Regions from separate parts of the Homo sapiens genome. Here regions 1 and 3 are each linked to region 2. Evidence: promoter capture Hi-C in human tissues and cell types (Jung and others, 2019). All regions are on one chromosome and are shown on one strand. Each heading gives the region's core, a stretch centred on a gene start or on the middle of the fragment in contact. The rest is flanking DNA. Distances are from core to core; before and after follow the strand shown.

What was found. The method cuts DNA at HindIII sites, captures the fragments that hold promoters and counts their contacts. A contact is called where the count stands out against the background at its distance.
Region 1: a fragment that was not itself captured here is called in contact with the fragment with the promoter of EMC4 in region 2 in 2 of the 25 tissues and cell types used here (IMR-90 fibroblasts and hippocampus).
Region 3: a contact is called between a fragment that was not itself captured here and the fragment with the promoter of EMC4 in region 2, in 2 of the 25 tissues and cell types used here (H1 embryonic stem cells and liver).

What each region holds. Positions count from the first base shown.
Region 1 is chr15:34,122,343-34,126,131 of GRCh38, forward strand. No RefSeq gene overlaps it. Among named protein-coding and RNA genes, the nearest start is that of PGBD4, 22 kb to the left of the region's middle. The HindIII fragment of the contact is 3,704 bases long and covers 1-3,416 here.
Region 2 is chr15:34,223,653-34,227,455 of GRCh38, forward strand. EMC4 (ER membrane protein complex subunit 4) reads left to right here and starts at 1,364. Exons shown (of 5, transcript NM_016454.4): 1 at 1,364-1,548; 2 at 1,884-1,998. The coding sequence starts at 1,463. RefSeq lists an enhancer at 1,678-1,727. The HindIII fragment of the contact is 15,250 bases long and covers 1-3,803 here.
Region 3 is chr15:34,147,810-34,151,385 of GRCh38, forward strand. It overlaps KATNBL1 (katanin regulatory subunit B1 like 1), which reads right to left. Exons shown (of 10, transcript NM_024713.3): 5 at 823-941. Among named protein-coding and RNA genes, the nearest start is that of PGBD4, 48 kb to the left of the region's middle. The HindIII fragment of the contact is 4,691 bases long and covers 1-3,576 here.

The DNA.
Region 1 (3,789 bases), core at 315-2,814, 100 kb before region 2:
CTGTTCCATTGGTCTATGAGTCTGTTTTTATGCCAGTACTATGCTCTTTTGATTACTACAGCTCTGTAGTACAATTTGAAGTCAGATAATGTGATTCCTCCAGTTTTGGTCTTTTTGCTTAGTATAACTTTGGCTATTTGGGGTCTTCTGTGATTCCATGTACATTTTAGGATTTTTTTTTTTCATTTCTGTGGATACAGAATCTTTCAATGAGAAAAAAATAAAAATTCAATGAGTTCCATTTTAATAGGTCATACTGCAGATGTTGCCAATTGACAATTATACTATAAAATTAGACAAGATGATTTATAATTTGTTAGTTATAATTTTGCTATTCCCAAACTTCCTGTGAGGCCCTGACTAAACTGACAAACCTGAACATTGTAATTCCTAAAACAATAACAAAACCCTACCACTCACAGACCTCAATGATTCTCAAACTTATGTGTGTGTGAGAATCACCCGGGGAGTGTAATAAACATCAGATGCCTGGGCCCCACCCCTGGAGATTCTAACTCGGTTGGTCTGGAATGGGGCCCTGGGCAGTTCCATGTTTACAAGCTTGTGATGTCATTCCGATGTGCCGCAAGTTTGAGAGCTGCTGGCCTATCTCAGGGGAATAGCATTTGCATTAAATAAGTAGTCTAGTAAAGCTCTTAGAAAACAAAGCATAATGCTTCCTTTGTGGCTATTAGTCATTAGCGACTTTCCAGAAGCAGAAATGGTATGTCCATTTATCACGATACTAACAAATTTCTGTCTAGCTTTGACTCAACAGTTAAAACAGTGCAGGGGTTAAGAACACACACACAGGATATGGGGTCAAACCAGGGTTTGAATCCTGGCTGTGTCAATTACTAGCAGTGAGACCTTGTCCAAGTGGCTTCATGTTGAGCCTTAGTTTCTGCATGTGGAAAAAGGAACTAGAGTACTTATTTATCTCCCAGGATTGTATGAGGATTAAATGAGAGAATGTAAATAAGGCACCTACCACAGCTATAGGCAAGTGAAAAGCAATCAATAAATGGAACTATTGGCCAGGCGTGGTGGCTCACAACTGTAATCCCAGCACTTTGGGAGGCCGAGGCAGGCGAATCATGAGGTCAGGAGTTCGAGAACAGCCTGGCCAACATGGTGAAACCCCATCTCTATTAAAAATACAAAAATTAGCCAGGCGTGGTGGCAGGTGCCTATAATCCCAGCTACCTGGGAGGCTTAGGCAGGAGAATCACTTGAACCCGGGAAGTGGAGGTTGAAGTAAGCTGAGATCGCACCATTATCCAGCCTGGGCAACAAGAGTGAAACCTTGTCTCAAAAAAAAAAAAAAAAAAGGAACTATTATTATTATGTTGACTAATTACTAGATGATTTCAGTGTGACCTTGCTGTGATTAATGCAGGATTAGAAACAGGATCAACTTAATATGATCATATTAAGCTTTCTGTGACCATATATTTGTTCTGGAAAGGGTGAAACATACAAGTGTGTATATTATACACACTACAAACAAATGTTTTATCTATTTTAAAGTAAGTAATTATATTTAGTCTCTTCCATTCTTAATGTGTTTATATCACTTACAAAAATACTTCCATATCACATAGGGAGATCATTTTACAGAAGAAAATGAATGGCATGAGATGGCCACCTGTTTCATATTCTAGGCAACACAGCAGTCACAAGCTATGGAAATCCAAGATTTAGGAGACTGGTTTTATATCCTAAGCCAAAGTTATCCCTCAAAACCAGAATGCTTTTTAAAAATAAAAATAGTCTTATGGTGATGAAGGCATATGTCTATAATACCAGACCGAAAAGTGATAATAGTAATCAGCAAGCAGAATTAACCACAGTTTTTTTAGTTATAGTGCTCTGGCCTATTACATTAAAATGAACAATTTTTCAGATAAAGAATCTTCAACTACATTTCCAGTGGAGAAATTCAATTGCCCTATCCTAGACTTATGCAACTCTGGTTCTCAAAGGTCCCTAATTTTTATCTGTAAGAACAACTTTTTATTTCCTAGATACTTTATGATTCCAAATGGGTAGGGGTAGGGGTGAGGCGAGGGCAGAAACTGTCCCAGAAGTCAGCAGTGAAGTCCCTGAACAGAGATGGACAGTGCTGATGATAGAGTCGGTCAGCTCCCTACTTTTGCCCTTCTCTTGGAGCTGGTCAGAGGCATAACCAATATGGTGAGAAAAATGGCTTTCATGCAAGATCTACTGGCAGAGATCCTGATGGGCTGCTGGAGGTCCCCTGGGTTTATAATTATCAGCACACATCTATGGAACAATGCAACTGTAAAGCGTACTGTGCTAGGTACCCATACAGAATAAGTACCTTACATTAATTCTGCGACAAAATATGCAGTCTTACAATTAATGATCCATGTGTGAGGGAGTGAATCCTAATGGCAGTAACAGAGGGTTTGCAGATATGCTCATTGACAGCATGGCAGGGTCCTGTTACAGGAGTTCTATTACGGAATGAATCTTCTCTTGATAGAAAAACAGGTGCTGGTTGGTGGCTACAGCCAAGAAGGATGAATGACTGATAGGAACAGGCACCTGGGTCTCGTCTGAATATTCTAGTTTATTTTAAACACCCAGTAGCTCTTTGTTCCTTTATTCATTTATTCAACAAATTTTTATTGAACATTTCTTATTATATTTAGGTTGCACAGAGCAGGGAGCTGGAGTTACAATGGTGAGTTAGACAAACATTGATCCTACCTAAGAGGCTACTGACAGGTAAATAAGTAAAATTTAGTATAGCCAATTATACTTATGTACCATGATGGGGGAAGAACAGGATACACTCAGAGCACAAAGAAGGGGCACCCAACACAAAAATTTGAAGAGAAGAACAAGCTAAGACTTGAAGATTCAAGAAAGAGTTATTTTCAGAGAAGGTGGGAGGATGGATGAAGGGAAAAAGGCAGAGACAGGAGTGAGTGTTCTCCGCAGAGAAAAACAGTAAGTTTGAAGGCCTGGACTGAAATTGCAGGGTATGTCCAACCAAATGGCCCAAGAGTACCCTGGCATACGGTGGAGTATGTATGTGTGTGATGTTGAGATGAGATGAGGGTAGAAAGCAAAGCCAGGAACAAGAAGAAGCTAGTGGCCAGGCACAGTGGCTCACAATGGTAATCTCAGCACTTTGGGAGGCCAAGGCAGGAAGATTGCTTGAGTCCAGGAGCTCGAGACCAGCCTGGGCAACATAACGAGACCCTGTCTCTACAAAACAAAAGAAATATTAGCTGGGCAGTCCCTGCTACTCAGGAGGCTGAGGCTGAAGGATCCCGTGAGCCCAGGAGTTCGAGCTGCAGTGAGCTATGAGCTATGATTACATCAGGGCACTCCAGCCTGGGTGACAGAGAGACCCTGCCTCTTAAAAAAAAAAAAAGTAACATACAGTAATTTCTGAAATTACTAAAACTATACAAGGTGCCAGGAAGTTCCAGTTAGGTCACTAGCAGCAGTAAGTTGATGTCATTAAATCTGAGCAGATTCTGTGTAAAGTTGAAGAGTGATGGGCTCTTCGGTTTCTATGCTAGCTATTGATGCTTCCTCCCTGTATCCTGTTAAAGCCTATCTATTCCCAACTAACTGTAAAATATAAGGAACACAGCAGTTTCGTCAATGTGAGTAAGAAAACTATTCAATTAGTAGACAACAATAAAGGAATTCTGTCCACAGAAAGCCTATAAAGTATTTGAACAAATTTGGTATTTGATATATATTGCCTGAACTACTAGCCTAAGTGCAAAGATCATGTTTTCCCAG
Region 2 (3,803 bases), core at 114-2,613:
GAGGCTGAGGCAGGAGAATTGCTTGAACCCGGGAGACGGAGGTTGCAGTGAGCCGAGATAGTGCCATTGCACTCCAGCCTGGGCAACAAAAGCAAAACTCCGTCTCGAACAAAAACACAAACAAACCAAACACCAGATATGTGGTGGGCACTAATCTCACAAGCCTTGAAAGTAGGTAGATTATCCAACTTTTACATGAAGAGGCTGAAACAAATTCAACTTGCCCAAGGTCATACAATTATTAAGTGGTGAAACCAGGATTCAAAAGGAGGCCATCTGCTGGGTGCAGTGGCCCATGCCTTTGTAATCTCAACATTTTGGGAGGCCAAGGCAGGAGAATCACTTGAACCCAAGAGTTTGAGAGCAGCCTGAGCAACATAGCGAAACCCTGTCAAAACAAAACAAAACAAAACAAAACAAGACTGGGGCGTGGTGGCGCGCCCTGTGGTCCTAGCTCCTCGGAACGCTCAGGTTGGAAGGAACGCTCAGGTGGGAAGATCGCTTGAGCCGGGGAAGTCGAGGCTGCAGTGAGCCGTGATAGCGCCACTGCACTACAGCCTCGGCAACGGAGTGAAACCCTGTCTCAAAAAACAAACCCAAAACAAACAACAACAAACGCAGGCTAACTGAATACCGAGCCCATGTCCCCTTCCATGCCCACAATGCTGCCTTGCCTTTGTGCAGAATGTGGTTAGAACTGTTTACCTCGCAAGGTTACTGTGCAAGTGAAATGAAATAAACACATGACACAGTGGACATTCAATACTCAGAAACTACTAAGTAACTCGCTCAAGGTCAAGCTAGGATTTAAACCCAGGATTTGAATCTTTTGTTCCAGGGAGCGCGTAGGAGGTTAAGAAGCTTTTCTTGGCTTCCTTTTTTTTTTTTTTGAGACAGAGTTTCGCTCTTGCTGCCCAGGCTGGCGTGCAATCGCTCGGTCTCAGTTCACTGCAACCTCCGGCTCCCGGATCCAAGCGATTCTCCTGCCTCAGCCTCCTAAGTAGCTGGGATTACAGGCGCCCGCCACTAAGCCCGGCTAATATTTTGTATTTTTAGTAGAGACGGGGTTTCACCATGTTAGCCAGGCTGGTCTCGAACTCCTGACTTCAGGTGATCCGCCCACCAATTCTTAACGCTGAGTCAGTATGGGCTTTCCTTCAGCCCCATAAAGTGCACCTCAGAGGTCAGGGAACACATAACAAGGACATTCAAAAGGGGAGCGCGCGGAAGTGGCTTTAGGAAGCACTAAGTCTTGCCTGGTTTTTTTTCCTCCCTGCTTTTCTAAATCCAAACCCGGACTCCTCAACCCACAGCACCACCAATTTCCAGGGCGGAAATGACGTCGTATTCACGCGCCGGAAGTGCATTTGCAGAGTGAGACAAAGCGGAGAACGCTGGTGGGCCTGTTGTGGAGTACGCTTTGGACTGAGAAGCATCGAGGCTATAGGACGCAGCTGTTGCCATGACGGCCCAGGGGGGCCTGGTGGCTAACCGAGGCCGGCGCTTCAAGTGGGCCATTGAGCTAAGCGGGCCTGGAGGAGGCAGCAGGTGAGGCACCTGGGCAAGCTGTACATCACTGTTCATCCCAGAACTGCACCAGAGTAATGAGACCTGAGCCCTCAGGCATAACTCTGAAAAAGATGGGTGGCACACAGACATCACCTGGGGAGGTAGCGGCTTTTCTGCCGTGGAAGTTTCTCTGCTCAAACAATGCTTACATCAGTCCTCCTGATAAGTCAAAGGACTGAGGAACATACGAGGGGGCTTGGTCTAATCTGAGTAGGTGCATCTGAAGATCTTTATTCCTATGATTGGTAGATCAGGAAATGTGGGATAAGAAGTATCGGAGGTTGCAGCTTTAGTTTCTTGGTTTGGTTTTTTAGGGGTCGAAGTGACCGGGGCAGTGGCCAGGGAGACTCGCTCTACCCAGTCGGTTACTTGGACAAGCAAGTGCCTGATACCAGCGTGCAAGAGACAGACCGGATCCTGGTGGAGAAGGTACAGAGGTATAGATGTTACCGTAGCCCATGGGCCAGTCCTGAGTTACACACTCATCCTCTTCTCCTAGGTGGAGTTAACGTAGATAGCTCTTATCCTGAAGATTTGGAAACTAAACTGCTTGAGGCTGGTATTTCGGTATTTTATATATCAGCTACAAAAGTGCTTAATAATTTGAAAAATAGAAGATGTTTGGAACATAAGGTATAAGAAAGTAGGTTGAAAACTATCTTTTGGTGGCAACATCTTCCAGTTGAAGTGATCCTTTTTCTACTCTGGTTCCCTTACACCACATATCCAACTGTCAGGATACTCTGTTGGCTTTACCTACTACTTTTTCCTGTGTTCACCTCTCATCCTAATCCAAGCCACCATCCTTCATCTAGATTTCTGCAGTAGCCCGGCTAATTTTTGTATTTTTAGTACAGACAGGGTATCACCATGTTTGCCAGGCTGGTCTTGAACTCCTGACCTCAGGTGATCCATCCGCCTTGGCCTTCCAAAGTGCTGGGATTGCAGGCATGAGCCACCGCGCTCGGCCCGGGGCTATTTATATTTCTAATTTCTCCTGTCATTTTGTTACATTTTTTCTAGAAACTTATCCATTTCCTAAAATTTCAAATGTATTGATATAAAGTTGTTCATAATATGATCACTTCCATATATGCAAGATCTGTGATGTTCATTTTTTCATTCCTGATATTGAATATTTTGTCTCCTCTCCTTTCTTCATCAGGCTCACCAGTATTGATTTTTTAAAAATTATTTTCATTTATTTTTACAGGTCACTGTACCCATCACCAGTATTGATTTTATTAATCTTTTCAAAAATACTTGGGTTTTTTTCTAGTTTCTTGAAATGGATGCTTAGTTTATTTTTAGACTGCCATTACTTTTTTTCTTTTCTTTTGAGACAGTCTTGCTGTTGTCGCCGAGGCTGGAATGCAATAGCACGACCTTGGCTCACTGCAACCTCTGCCTCCCAGGGTCAAGCAATTCTCCTGCCTCAGCCTCCCGAGTAGCTGGGATTATAGGCACCCACCACCACGTCCAGCTAATTTTTTTGTATTTTTAGTAGAGACGGGGTTTCACCACGTTGGCCAGGCTGGTCTGAAACTCCTGACCTCAGGTGATCCACCAAGCTCGGCCTCCCAAAGTGCTGGGATTACAGGTGTGAGGCACCGCGCCCGGCCACATTGCCATTACTTTTAATGGCAACAACCGCAGTTACTTTTGCAGCAACCTGGTAGTATGTATTTAAGGTTATAAATTTCTCAGAACTCTAGCTGTGTCCCACGAGTTTTAAAATGTGGTACTTTTGCTATCATATAAATCTATTTTCCATTATAATTTCTTCATGTATCATTGTTAATTCCCAAACATAAGAGATTTTCTAGTTACTATAAAATTATTTCTAGTTTAATATCATTGTAGTCAAAGAATATGTTTTGTACAATTTGCATTCTTTGAGATTGACATTTTCTTCATGGCTCAGCGAGTGGTCAGTTTTTGTGAATATCTTGTTTGAAAAGAATGTGAATTCTGCAATTGTTGAGTGCAGTGTTACATGTCAGTTGGGTTAAGTTTGTTAATGTCATTCAAATCTTCTATGTCTTGATTTGCCTGCTAATTCTATTATTTCTGGAACTAAATTAGTTCGATGGTTCTATTAGTTATTGACTGAGGTGTGCTAATCTCCCATTATGTGGATTTATCTATTTCTTCAGTTGTAGATAGGACATTGATAGATACATAAGTACCAGGACAAAAGCAGGGAGATCTTTTTTCCAAAATCAGGAGAAAAA
Region 3 (3,576 bases), core at 691-3,190, 75 kb before region 2:
CAATGAGGAAAGTAATGCTTCAAATTCCCACTCAAAAGGGATGTTTACTTTTTATTTTTAGTAATTTTTTTTTTAAGAAACGGGTCTCATTCGGTTGCCCAGGCTGGAATGTAGTTGCATAATCACAGCTTACTGCAACCTCCAACTCCTGGGTTCAAAGTGATCTTCCCAAGTATCTGGGACCACAAGCACGTACCACTGTGCCTGGCTTATTATTTTTATTTTTTGTAGAGATGGAGTCTTGCTATGTTGCTCAGTCTCTCACTCCTGGGCTCAAGGGACTCTCTCACCTCAACCTTCCCAAATGCTGGGATTATAGGCAAGAACTGCCACACCTGGCCTCAAAAGGGATTTTTAGAAGGTTAGTTTTCCCATATCGTTATCTCTTAGTTTTATAGGTAAGAATGACAGTCAGGAAAGGTAACAGCTTTGTTCAATCTGATAAAACATTGTTTTCTGTATTTTGGTTACTCTTAGATGGGTGAGGAATGTAATTTAAGCCATACTGTCTCTACTGAAGCTACATATAGGCAGTTTAGAATAATGAAGAAGGTTCACCTGAGCTCAGGAGTTCGAGACCAGCCCGGGAAACATAAGACCTCATGTCTTCCAAAAAATTTTTTTAAAAAATAGCCAGGTGTGGTGATGTGCACCTGTACTCTCAGCTACTCAGGAGGCTGAGGTGGGAGGGCTGCTTGAACTCAGCAGGTTGAGGCTGCAGTGAGCCATGATTGTGCCACTGTACTCCAACTTGGATGACAAAGCAAGAACTTGTCTCAGAAAAAAAGTGATTGAACAAAGAGGATAAAAGGTCACACTTACCTCAACAAATAAGCTACAAGTTCACTTATACTTCTCTTTCTCCAGAAAGTTAAAGCTACATTCAATCTCATATTCCTGCTGAACAAAACTTGGGCCATTGTTTCATGGTCCTGAGAAACCTGAAAGGCAATAATCTGATTTGTTAAAAAGCACACTGAAACAGGGTATGAAACTATTTTTTTATTAAATCGTTCTGGTAGACATAGTTAAAAATCATGCAAAAGTAACTCCTTTTACTAGCCCACAAAAAGGAATACTGCAGTTGACCACAGTAAACAAATGATCTGAACAAATTTAAGACCCATTTATACTTTTCACTAGCTACCATTTTTCTTTTAAAACCCAATAATTTATAAAATTATTTTTAGCTGACCTATAAACTAGGACTTAATTTATAACATGGATAAAAGAAAAATGTAAACATGTAGGCTAGTCATTACCAACTGAATGGCAGGAGAATCACAAAAACTCAGTTTTTGACAAGTGTTGTAGTATCATTTAAATTTATCTATTTATTGTTAAGTAATGAAGTGTCATTTTCCTGTTCTAATGTGTTTAACACAGAACTATGTAAGATAAAAAGTAAAAACTCTCTGCCTGCCCACAAAAACATCCAATATCACTCCGCAGAAATAATCACAGTTAACAGACTGATATGTATCTTTCCAGACCATTTTCTAGACAAAGACAAATTAAGTACACATATAAACACTCTGAAAAATTAATTACCTATATTGTTCAAAACCTTGCTTTTTTACCTATATGAACATTTTTCAATGTCAAAACACAGATCAAGCTTTTTTTTTTTTGGAGACAGGGTCTTGCTCTGTTGCCTAGGCTGGAGTGCAGTGGTGCAATCTCAGCTCACTGCAACCTCCGCCTCCCAAGCTCAAGTAATTCTCCTGCCTCACCCTCCCCGAGTAGCTGGGATTACAGGCACCCAACACAACACCCAACTAATTTTCCTATTTTTAGTAGAGATGGGGTTTTGCCATGTTGGCCAAGCTGGTCTCCAACTCCTGACCTCACATGATCCGCCTGCCTTGGCCTCCCAAGTGCTGGGATTACAGGCATGAGCCGCCACACCAAGCCCAACTTTACTTTTAAAGAACAACAGCATAGCCTGGCATAGTGCTGTGTGCCTACAGTCCCAGCTACTTGGGAACCTGAGGTGGGAGAACCACTTGAGCTCAGGAGTTTGAGTCCAGCCTGGGAAAGACAGTGAGACAGTGAGACCTCATCTCTTAAAAACAACAACAAAAAACAATAGCATATTCTCTAGTCTTTACATACCATAATTTATTTAGATTCTGGTTTTTACCTATCAAAACTGATGAGTGGACATCCTGATATATGTAAATATGTGCACTTGTACAGACACTTTTGTTAAAATTAATTTTACAATTGGAACAGCTAGGTCAATGGTTATATGTATTTTAACTTGGCTAAGATGTTATGGTATCACTTTCAGATTTAGGTTTTTAGAGCAGGTACTGGTCAATCAAGAAAACAGGTATGAAACAAGAATAATCATTAAACCTATTAGTTAAATGTAAGGTTTAGTGAAAAGTAGTGAAAATGAGAATGTAAAGTAAAAAGAGGTTCTTGAGAAAGATGTCTCACTGGGGTAGTTTTTAAAATGCACAACTGAAACTTTTTAAAAAGAACTTTTATTCTGGCCAGGCACAGTGGCTCACACCTGTAATCCCAGCACTTTGGGCTGGGGCTGAGGCAGGTTGATCGCTTCAGCTCAGTAGTTCGAGACCAACCTGGGGAGCATGGCAAAACCCTGTCGCTATAGGAAATACAAAAATCAGCTGGGTGTGGTGGCACATGCCTGTAGTCCCAGTTACTCTGGAGACTGAGGTGGGAGGATTGCTTGAACCTGGGAGGTGAAGGTTGCAGTGAGCCAAGATTGCACCACTGCACCCCAGCCTGGGTGATAGAGCGAGAGACCCTGTTTCAAAACACAAAACAAAACAAACTTATTTTATGTTCAGGGGCACATGTGCAGGTTTGTTATATAGGTAGTTTGCATGTTGTGGGGGTTTGGTGTACAGATTATTTCATCACACAGGTAATAAGCATAGTAACTGATAAGTAGTTTTTTGATCCTAACTCTCTTCTCACCCTCTACCCTAAGGTAGGCCTCATGTCTGTTGTTCCCATCTTTGTGTCCATATGCACTAGCACAGTGTTTAGCTCCCACTCCAACTGAGAACATGAAGCATTTGGTTTTCTGTTCCTGTATTAGTTCGCTTAGGATAATGGCCTCCAGGTTCACTCGTGATTGCAAATGACATGATCTTGTTCTTTTTATGGCTGCATATAGTATTCCATGGTGTATATGCACCATATTTTCTTTATCCAGTTTACCATTGATGGGCATTTCGATTGATTCCTTGTCTTTGCTATTGTGAACAGTGCTGTGATGAACATACGCATACATGTGTCTTTATGGTAGCATGTTTTATATTCCTTTGGGTATATATCCAATAATAAGATTGTTTTAAGTTCTTTGAAAAATTGTCGCACTGCTTTCACAATGGCTGAAACTAAATTACATTGTCACCAGCATTGTATAAGTGTTCTTTTTCCACAACCTTGCCAGAATCTATTATTTTTTGACTTTTTAATAATAGCCATTCTAACTGGTATGAGATGATATCCTGTTGTGGTTTTGATTTGCATTTCTCTAATGATGAGTGATTTTAGGTTTAGCATTTAGGCTGAGCATTTTTTCATATGCTTGTC